Regions from separate parts of the Homo sapiens genome. Here regions 1 and 2 are each linked to region 3. The links are contacts of gene promoters, found by promoter capture Hi-C in blood cells and fetal thymus (Javierre and others, 2016). All regions are on one chromosome and are shown on one strand. Each heading gives the region's core, a stretch centred on a gene start or on the middle of the fragment in contact. The rest is flanking DNA. Distances are from core to core; before and after follow the strand shown.

Region 1 (3,506 bases), core at 361-2,860, 210 kb before region 3:
AAAACAAATAAATGCAGTGTGGTTATTTATTTATTTATTTTATTGAGACAGAGTCTCACTCTGTCACCCAGGCTGGAGTGCTGTGGCACGATCTCGGCTCACTGCAACCTCCGCCTCCCCGGTTCAAGCGATTCTCCTGCCTCAGCTTCCCGAGTTGCTGGGATTACAGGCGCCCGCCACCACCCCCAGCTAATTTTTGTATTTTCAGTAGAGACGGGCTTTCACCATGTTGGCCAGGCTGGTCTCGAACTCCTGACCTTAGGTGATCCACCCACCTCAGCCTCCCAAAGTGCTGGGATTACAGGCGTGAGCCACCACGCTCGGCCTGCAGTGTAGTTCTTGATTGAATTCTGTTTAAACAAACCAGGTATTGAATTCAATTAATGAATAGTTAGGGAAACTTAAATATGGACTAGGTATTGAGTGATATAAAGGAACTAGTGTTAATTTTATCAGCAATAATTATGGTATTATGGTAGATACACATACATACTCTCAGGCATCCACAGTATGTTAGCAAAATATTGGCACAGAGCATGTACTCTGGAGCCTCAGAAAGCTAGGTTTCACAATTTAATCCTGGTTCCACAATTTACTAGCTATGTGAATCTGGGCAAGCTATTTAAACTACATGATATTTGGGTTCCTATGTTTTTAAAAGAAATTAATATTTCTAATTTTTATAATTATTATTAGGACAAAATGATACACATTGAAAAAAGAATTTTTTTTTTGAGACAGAGTCTTGCACTGTTGCCCAGGATGGAGTGCAGTGGCACAATCTTGGCTCACTGCAACCTCCACCTCCATGGTTCAAGTGATTCTCCTGTCTCAGACTCCCGAGTAGCTGGGATTACAGGTGCCCGCCACTATGCCTGGCTAATTTCTTTGTATTTTTAGTAGAGACGGGTTTCACTATGTTGGCCAGGCTGGTCTTGAACTCCTGACCTTGTGATCCACCTGCCTCAGCCTCCCAAAGTGCTGGGATTATAGGCGTGAGCCACCACGCCCAGCCGAAAAATATTCTTTAATATAGTACCTGAAACATAGTAAGCATGTAACAAGTTTTACTTCTTTATATTAGGTTATATTTTATATCATTAGTATTATCATTAACAACCAGACCATGCAGTGGAAAAGAGAACAGAAATTGCAAGATGGATAAAAATTAACAGGAGCACCCCTGGGCATACACACATACCAGCACACTTAATTCTACATTTTAAGTTAGAGTTATGGACTCTTGTCACATGTCTGAAACAGAAATTTCCTAACACTGCTAACTGTGGTCATACTTAACGCAGCTGTGTAATTGTCCATCTGTTCTGATCTTTTGATGCTTAACTCAGTGGAGCATATACACAAGTACTGGAGATCAGGACCTCAGTTTATAAATGGGAGTTGCTCAGGAAAGAAAATTATAGTGCCCAGCCCATGGTCCCTAAGAAATAGAGCCCTGGCTTTTCACTCACTTTCTCTAAGTCTTGTCCCAATCAAACCCCTTCAAACAGCCAATACTCACCAAATCTTGGGGATCAGGCCAAAGGGAAAGAAGAAAGAGTGTGTTGACAAAATCTACAAGACAGCAGACACACCAACCAAAAAAAAACATGAGTGGAAGGAAAAGGAAGGACGTTAGAGAGGTTGATTCCCTGTCCATTTATTTTCTCTGATCACTCACTGCTCCTTGTGGGGAAAAGGTAGGTAGTTAGGGGATTAGAGACTCTGACATGCCCTCTTCTCACCCTCAAGGGAAGAAGATGAAAAAGATTCTATTAACCTTGTTCATGCCTTTGAGTTAACACTGCCTTAGAGTGCTTTATTTATTTATTTATTTGTAAGCTGATGTGTATGTGGGTGGAAAGCTGTGTGTATGTGCCTATCATATCACCCAGGTTTCAAGTTCATGCCCTCACTTACCAGATAAAGGACTTTGGATGAGTTACTTAATTTCCATTAAAAGGTGGTCATATTAGTACCTGTCTCTCAAGATTTTATAAGGATTGACAAATTAATAGGATACTGCTAGTGAAAATGCTTAACATATCGGCAAACTTATGGTGTAAAGGAATAACCTAGGGCACCTGTTAAGATGAAAATTATATGGCCCACATGAAATAATTCTAATATTATCTTTTAAAAATTCCAGTGGCTTTAGGGGTACAAGTGTTTTTTGATTACATGGGTGAATTGTATAAGGTTGAAGTCTGGGTTTCTAGCGTACCTGTCACCCATATTGCGTAGATTGTACTCAATAGGTGATGTTTCATCCCTCACCCCTCTCCTAGCTTCTCCTCTTCTGGGTCTCCAATGTCCATTATACTACTATGTGTGCCCTTGCATACCTATAGCTTATCTCCCACTTATAATTTTTAAAACATTAAACTTCATTAAACATTTTTATTGGTAAAAACAATATGAGCAAATAAAATATATTCTTATGGAGAAACTGTTAGGTCTACCAGCTGGTACTGTCAGGAATTTCTGCAAGTCCAGATATCAATTTTTACCTAAGAGGCTTTTACCCAACAATTCTGAAAGCCAAGTCAGTTTTTGTCAATGTTTGTCAAACGTTTGCTAAATATTGTTGAATGTGTTAATTAATAAAGATTGCCAGGAGTCCACTCAGTACTCTGAATGTTCTAGAATATCTGGAATAAACCAGAACTAATGAGATTAGTATTGTATTGGCTCCCAACAGAATTTTTACCTTTCGCTGAATAAAAATTGAGGTTGCTTCACCTCTCTATACTAGGATAAGGGACTGAAGAGTCACATGAACTTGTGTATTCTGTAAGAATGTGATTAATTGCATCACTTACTGCCTATTCTTTAAGAGCTTTCTAAAGATATTTCTCCATTCTTCATATAAGAAGTAGTTTTGCTTCTCTAACAATTAACTGTCTGTAACTTATAGCCATCATGAATTATGTAGCTAATCATGTTTAACTCTCACATAGACTGTTAGAAAGCTTACAGCTCAATTTCTGACCCACATATAATAAGAGAACAAAAATTCATAGCAGGTGGAAAGTGTATTTTCGGCCTATTTTTTGTCTTAATTTTTAAAAATCTTTCTACTTTTCTTTTTGCCTTTTCTATTTATACTTTGTAATATGCCACATAACAATGTTTCTGAACAATTGTCCCATAAGATTACAATACCATATTTTAGAGTACCTTGTCTATGTTTAGACATGTTTAGATGCACAAATACCATTATATTATACTTCCCTACAATATTCGGTATAGTAACATGATGTACAGTTTTGTAGCCTAGGAGCTATAGAATATAATAGAGAGCCAAGGCTGTATCACACAGGTTTGTGTAAGTACACTCTATGATATTTGCACAATAATAAAATCATCTAACAACACATTTATGAGACTCTATCCTCATTGTTAAGTGGGACCTGACTATATTTTTATTTATGGTATGCAAAATACATCAAGTAATTTTGGAAACAATGCATGTAGCTATTGTCACATGTTAAGAGATAGACTAT
Region 2 (3,712 bases), core at 703-3,202, 240 kb before region 3:
GAGGGTGGGAAGGGTCCCCATCCGGGGATTGTAGCCTCTGCAGGACTGTTCCAGGCTTGTGGCAGCACTCAGGTCCCTTGGGCTCAGCTGTATCTGAAACATTCCAGGAACAGGGCACTGTGTCAGGATAGCTGCAGCTGGGGGCAGGAAGCCAACCCAGGCCCCATAGGTAGGGTGCAACCCAAGGCAGAAGAACAGGAGCCTCTGTGGCCAGCAGCTGGAGGGCCTGCTCAATCTGCAATATTGCTTGGAATGCTTTAGGGTTGCCTAAGCACTAAGCAGATCAGAAATCTGTGTCTGCTGCAGGAATGTGGGCAGCTGCTGCCTCCACTGTTCACTCAGCTGGGGCATACTTGTGAACAACATAATCTGAGCTGCCAGGTAGGGGTTGTTCATAAGCAACTGCATCATGCCTCCTGTGATCTGGGAGCTGCTCTGCTCATCTGACAGCTGGAGATCACCCTTTAATGTCTGTCTGGAGCTACTTAGAGAAACAGTGGCATCCTTGTATTCTTCTTGAAGCTGCTGGGTAAGCTCTATGCTAGGTAAGGCTGGTATCCAAGCTGGCTGCCGAGTGGCACAGATATGGCTCTGGCCCTTGGTGGAAATCATAGCAGTGTTGGCTTTGGAAGTGTGGTTGACCTTGTTAAGGGTGTCATTGGCTGAGGTGTTTGAAGAGAAACCACCAGAGCTATTATAGATGACTCGGGTTGCAGGATGCTGTGTGAGCTGGTCTTGTTGTTCCTGTGATGGTGGTGGAGGTGGGGGTGAAGACTGGACTTGTTCTAGCACTTGTCCTGCCAGGAGAGCTGTGAAAGGGTTTCCTCCAAAAGGATCTTGCATGCTGTTCAGCATTTGATCATTGATATCAGCATAGTTCTGACCCAGGGCATTATTCCCACCTGGCATTGTCTCTAAGCCCAGATATGGCTGTGGGTTCAGTGGATACTCAAGGTTTTGTGAAGGTTGTTGGATCTGCATTATCTCTTGGATCATAGCAAGGTTCCTGGCCAGCTCCAGAGTCTGCAATAGGATCTCAGAATTATCAAGAAGAAGGCGGGAAACTTCTGGGTTCTGCTGCATCAATTGTTGCGTGTCTAGATGTTCTGAAATGAACTGCCACATGAACTCCATGTTGGACAGAAGCCGCTGGATGCTAGGATTCTCCAGCATCTGTGCTTTGCACTCTGGGTGGCTCACTTCCAAGTTTTGGGTATGCACTTTGGGTGCATCAGACCCCACAAAGTGGGCCAGTTCCACTGGAGCTTGATTCATACCAGTTGGTTGGTGCACTCTGCTGCTGTTTCCTTTGGTGTTTCTGTCCCGGTGGCAGGGATCATTCGTTGGCAGGTCCCGGAAGGAATGGGCTAGAGATCTGGAGCCCTGCTTGGACTTGATGACCAAGTAGATGGTGTGGCCATCCATGATGCCCCTCTGGCTCAGTGTGTCATGGTCTTTGAGAAGGCAACCCATGAAGACCAGCACTAGTTGGTCCATCTGGCATTGGAAGTGAGCCAATAGCATCTCCTTGAACTGCCTTACCGAGATGTCATCAGCTACCATAAAGTCTTTCTGGTTGCCTGCAGTCTTCACTATCACTCGAGTGGCACTTGAAGAGATATTTTTGTCTGCCAGCAGACCTGATGGACATCCACTCTGGGACATCCTGGATGTTCGAGAGATGGCATGCCACATGGGCTTTAGTGGGTGGGCAGATGGGGAGCAGGTGGAAGCTGGGGCAGAAAGGGTGAGGGCAGACAAATGTTTCTGCTGGCCTTTGTCTCAGGTATTGTGCTCTCAGGCCACAGGATAGTTTCCTTGTTGCCCTAAAAGGGATGAGTGACCAGACTGGGGCCAGATATTTTGTGATGTTGTGCCCTCACCCCAGTTCTCCAGATGTGGCCCAGCTGAGGCCTGGCATAGCTACTGATTCATAATTCACCCATGGTGGACAAAGTGGTGATGACTTCTCCTAGGGCTACCCCTCCTCCTACCCCACCCACCAGGGGCATGAATCCTCAGAAAAGGGATATTGTGATGTCAACTCTATCCTCGCAGTCACCCTGGGCCAGCTGGGGAAGGAGGACATATTTAGGGGTCCAGGGCTCTACAATAAAATAAAATAATTTTCCAGAAAACAGGGACAAAGTTCTCTGGATGGAACTAGTAAGAAAACAAAAAAGTAAATAAAAACCATATTTTTAAATGTGGGATGTGTGTTTCCGTGTGATACTGTGTGTATGTTCCTTATAGGGATGTTAGACTTGTATGAAAAGTTGGGTCTACTGAAGCCATAGATAAAGCCACATTCCTATAAGAATGCAGTCTCTCCCATAGGAAGGAGCGCATTAATTTTTTTAATGATCTGGAAATTTGGGTCTTATATAGAGTCTAGATTTTGGGATTCTATATTTAATTGTGCTCCCATGTGGTGGGGAAAATTTTCCTCTGTCCTAGGAAGCAGGAGTAGGGCTAACCAGGAAGGCTCTTCATAGGCACATGCCAAACTAAATGTGAATTAGCTCTTTTTTATAATATGCCTTTTATTCACATATCACTTGGTCTCTTCTACATGTCAATATAACAGAAGTTTTAGAATGATTTGTTTCAATGTCCTAACCCACTCTTGTGTGCCCACCTTTATGTCAAAGCATTAAGGGGGAATGTCGTCTGTAAATCAAGAGGTGGGAGAGGAGGTGGTTAGTAGTAAAATTCTTAAGGGGACAAATACAGGCAACTAAAAAGCTGGATTCTTGGTCCCATGTAAATTTGGAGAATTGTGTTTGGTTTTTATTTAGATGCAGATGGAAATAATTATTTATATGAGTGAGAGTGTACATGTCTTATCGAATGTATATATGAAATTGTATGCATATTCTGTGTTACTAGGAAGCCTTCAGGGTCTGGATTTTATATATTCCATCCACCTGCCTGGAGAGGGAGGAGCACCACACAGATAGCTAAGGAACAAGCAAAAAGCTCGAGCCCATATGTTCCCAGTGTGTTGAAGACAAGCAAAGGGATGATAGGCCGTTGGCCAGGAGACCTTCTGCTATCAAACCAATGATTCTTTATTGAGAATATCTAGACCCCCAGCACCATCCATGTCAGATCCTCATCATGCTATAAGGCCAGTTGCTAACTTACTACAGCAAGACTCAGGCCTATTCTCTTGCAATTGCACTCAAAAGTGAGATCGATCCAGGACAATGAAAAATTGATTACCAGACCAAGATCTTGCCCCTTTTCTCCCCAGGGACCTCACAGGAAGGTGGAGATAAGAAAGGGAACTTTCATATCCTACTCTAATGACCAGCTGCCCTGCAGCTTCTGCACTGGAATCAGGTGTTCCCAACCTGAGATTGACAATTCTAGATCACAGAACTCTTGAGTTCCGGGAGCTGGATTTATGAAAAAAGGAATATGAGATGCCAAAGCATCAGAAAGAGAGGGTACCATTTTCTTAGCTAATATTTTACTTTTTCCCTATCAAATCCACCTAGACCATTATTAAAGGGAACCTTAATGTACTGATTGAGATATTAATTACATAAAGAACTCACTAGATATAATCAGTCTTCCAATCATTAGGACCAATGGCCACTTTGGGATGTGGTCCTCCTGGAGGTAAGGAAGAGGGCACACTTCTACCAATGCTCTGCCTAGCCCTGGGGTCTCAGGGTCTGGAAGCCTCGTTAGGTTTGACAGGTTT
Region 3 (3,558 bases), core at 1,010-3,509:
AGCTACATTTGAGGGGAGTGGGCAAAGGGAGCACCAAGGAGATAGAGGTTTGCCTATCACAAAGCTGAGAATGTCAGTGCGATATGAGTAGGAAACAGCAAACAGCAACAGAAGAAAATGCTGTTCCTACCACTTTGACCTGTCAGAATTCTAATCATGCTCCAGGTCTGGAAGCATCTGTCCTCTTCTCTAGGAGCATCTCCTGAGGCTAGGTTAGACACACAGGTGCTCCTATGACACCCAGTATAACTCTGACATTTTGTAATGACTTGAGTACATATCTTTGAGGAGCATGCCTATTAACAAGTTTAACCTGTGTTTTTCTACTATTTTCAAAACAAGTTGCCTTTTGATAAATCTGATCTGTCCTCTTCATCTTACCCAATAAGGCAGAACATGTGACTGTACTTCCTATCAGATGCTAATCTTAAAACAGTGTATTTTATTAATGGAGGTTAGGATGAATACCTCCTCTGATGGGGCACAAAAGAGAGTTCATTTGGTGGCACTCATGATTCCTATGGTGTTAATTTTTGTAAGCATTGCCAAAATGGCTGCCAGCCTGAGTAGAAAATACAAATATGGGTATTGAGCACTTAAAATGTGGTAGCATGTTTTAACATATTACGTCCTTTAATCCTCTTGGCAATTTAATTTTTGTTATTATAAATTCTAACATACATATGCAATTTTACAATTAATCCAATTACATGTTGATTGATTTTTACAACCTGAATCTTGTATATCTCACAACCAAATCAAGTAAGGGAATATGACCAGCAACTAACAGGACCCTTCTACCACATACTGCCTTTCAGTTATCACTCTCTCTCACTTTTTAAAAAGATTTTTCTATTTCTAATAGCACAGAATAATTTGATCCGTTTTTGTATTTCATTTAAAGATCACAAGATGTTACATCTATTTTAAGTCTTTCTAAAAAAAATTAACACATATTGTGAGATTCGTCTATATTATGCATATAGTCATAGATTGTTTATTCTTATTGTTACGTGGTATTTCATTGTGGGAATGTACCAAAATTTATTTACCCATTTGATGTTGATGAACATTTAGGTTTTTTCCAGTTTTAGGCTATACTACAAATCATGTTTCAATAAGCATTCTAATTGATGTATTCTAGTAAATATATATACATAGTTTTGTTGGAAATGGCAATGGTGGTCATGTGTATGTTTATCATTATGAGATATCTAATAAAGAGTTGTTCTAATTTACATGTCTACCAGCAGTAAATGAGAGTTCCAGTTGTTCTACATCTTTGCCAATGCTTGGTATTTTTAGTTCTTTTCATTTTAGCTGTCCTGTTTGGTATGTCACTACATACCAAAAAAAGGTGCTTTGTCATGAGAGATACAATTTTTACTTATTTTTCTGATTAATATAAAAGTTTGTGCCTATTTACCTGTTCATTGGCAATTTTATTTCTCTTTTGAAGTGTATGTTTCTTCCTGCAACTTTTTCTTACTGATGTTGTTGAAGTACTTTATATATTTTCTGTATGTATGCATTTGGATATCTTCTAGTTTGCGTTGACTAGATACATAAAGAACAAGAAAGATATCTTGAAAAGTGAAAAAATTGAATCAAAACTTCATTGACTTTTTTAATTTTAAATTTTTGTGGGCACATAGTAGGTGTATATATTTATGGGTGTATGAGATATTTTGATAGAAGCATACAATGTGTAATAATCCCTTTTAAAGGGCCGGGCACAGTGGCTCATGCCTGTAATCCCAGCACTTTGGGAGCCTGATGTGGGTGGATTACCTGAGGTCAGGAGTTGGAGACCAACCTGACCAATATAGTGAAACCCCATCTCTGCTAAAAATACAAAAATTAGCTGGGCGTGGTGGCATGTGCCTGTAGTCGCAGCTACTCGGGAGGCTAAGACAGGAGAATTGCTTGAATCCGGGAGGTGGAGGTTGCAGCCAAGATTGCGCCACTGCACTCCAGCCTGGGCAACAAAGCAAGACTCTGCCTCAAAAAAAAAAAAAAAAAAAAAAAAAAATCCCAGTAAAGTAAATAGGGGTATCCATCATCTCAAACATTTATCCTTTGTGTTACAGACAACCCAATTATATTATTTTAGTTATTTTAAAATATACAATTAAATTATTATTGAGTATAGACACCCAATAAATTTACTAATTTTTGAGACCCCAAGCTTCATTGAGTAATAATTTAATTAAAATTTCAAAATTCTTTGAACAGTGCCTGAGTACCCAAGAATAAATATCAGTCAGTCATTAAGAATAAAAATTAAAAAGTCAACATCTCATCTCTCAGATCATCAGTGAGGTAATCAAATGACTCTTCTTTAAAATTATATCTATATTGAGATGAGTATAGTTATAGTTAAGTAAGATATTCTAATAAAAATACCATTTGAAAAGTCAGAATTATACTTGATTATAAATCTATGAGATTGGGAATATGTCTTTTTATAAAATAATTGATGTTTGATTGGCATCTGTGTTGAAAACTTAGACTGCTCAATAAGAATTTTTTACTGAATCAATTAATTAATCAATCAATAAAACTAAACAGACAAACAAAATTATTTCTTGGCACTCAGAAATTTGGTTGTTGGACCATTAAAATGCATTATGGAATTTTTAAAAGTTGGGGGAGAGGGAGACAGTAAAAATAACCTATATTTTCTCTTGTTTTTTTTTTTAACTCTAGGAAAGCCCAGACAAATTTTGAGCTATTTCATAACCTACCAGACTTATCATGCTAACACTGAATAAAACAGACCTAATACCAGCTTCATTTATTCTGAATGGAGTCCCAGGACTGGAAGACACACAACTCTGGATTTCCTTCCCATTCTGCTCTATGTATGTTGTGGCTATGGTAGGGAATTGTGGACTCCTCTACCTCATTCACTATGAGGATGCCCTGCACAAACCCATGTACTACTTCTTGGCCATGCTTTCCTTTACTGACCTTGTTATGTGCTCTAGTACAATCCCTAAAGCCCTCTGCATCTTCTGGTTTCATCTCAAGGACATTGGATTTGATGAATGCCTTGTCCAGATGTTCTTCACCCACACCTTCACAGGGATGGAGTCTGGGGTGCTTATGCTTATGGCCCTGGATCGCTATGTGGCCATCTGCTACCCCTTACGCTATTCAACTATCCTCACCAATCCTGTAATTGCAAAGGTTGGGACTGCCACCTTCCTGAGAGGGGTATTACTCATTATTCCCTTTACTTTCCTCACCAAGCTCCTGCCCTACTGCAGAGGCAATATACTTCCCCATACCTACTGTGACCACATGTCTGTAGCCAAATTGTCCTGTGGTAATGTCAAGGTCAATGCCATCTATGGTCTGATGGTTGCCCTCCTGATTTGGGGCTTTGACATACTGTGTATCACCAACTCCTATACCATGATTCTCCGGGCAGTGGTCAGCCTCTCCTCAGCAGATGCTCGGCAGAAGGCCTTTAATACCTGCACTGCCCACATTTGTGCCATTGTTTTCTCCTATACTCCAGCTTTCTTCTCCTTCTTTTCCCACCGCTTTGGG

The links. Contacts are between HindIII fragments. The CHiCAGO score rates a contact against its expected background, and 5 or more counts as called.
Region 1: the fragment with the promoter of OR52H1 here is called in contact with the fragment with the promoter of OR52N4 in region 3 in 11 of 17 cell types (activated CD4 T cells, M2 macrophages, total CD8 T cells and 8 more); the score reaches 8.2 in activated CD4 T cells.
Region 2: a contact is called between the fragment with the promoter of UBQLNL here and the fragment with the promoter of OR52N4 in region 3, in 4 of 17 cell types (M2 macrophages, activated CD4 T cells, total CD8 T cells and 1 more). The highest score is 7.1, in M2 macrophages.

Annotation. Positions count from the first base shown.
Region 1 is chr11:5,546,930-5,550,435 of GRCh38, forward strand. It overlaps OR52H1 (olfactory receptor family 52 subfamily H member 1), which reads right to left and starts at 1,611. Exons shown (of 2, transcript NM_001005289.5): 1 at 1,523-1,611. The HindIII fragment of the contact is 4,857 bases long and covers 1-2,970 here.
Region 2 is chr11:5,514,747-5,518,458 of GRCh38, forward strand. It overlaps UBQLNL (ubiquilin like), which reads right to left and starts at 1,953. Exons shown (of 1, transcript NM_145053.5): 1 at 1-1,953. The coding sequence starts at 1,695. The coding sequence ends at 268. It also overlaps the pseudogene OLFM5P. The HindIII fragment of the contact is 7,757 bases long and covers 1-3,712 here.
Region 3 is chr11:5,751,984-5,755,541 of GRCh38, forward strand. OR52N4 (olfactory receptor family 52 subfamily N member 4) reads left to right here and starts at 2,260. Exons shown (of 2, transcript NM_001005175.5): 1 at 2,260-2,322; 2 at 2,710-3,558. The coding sequence starts at 2,758. The HindIII fragment of the contact is 4,248 bases long and covers 2,187-3,558 here.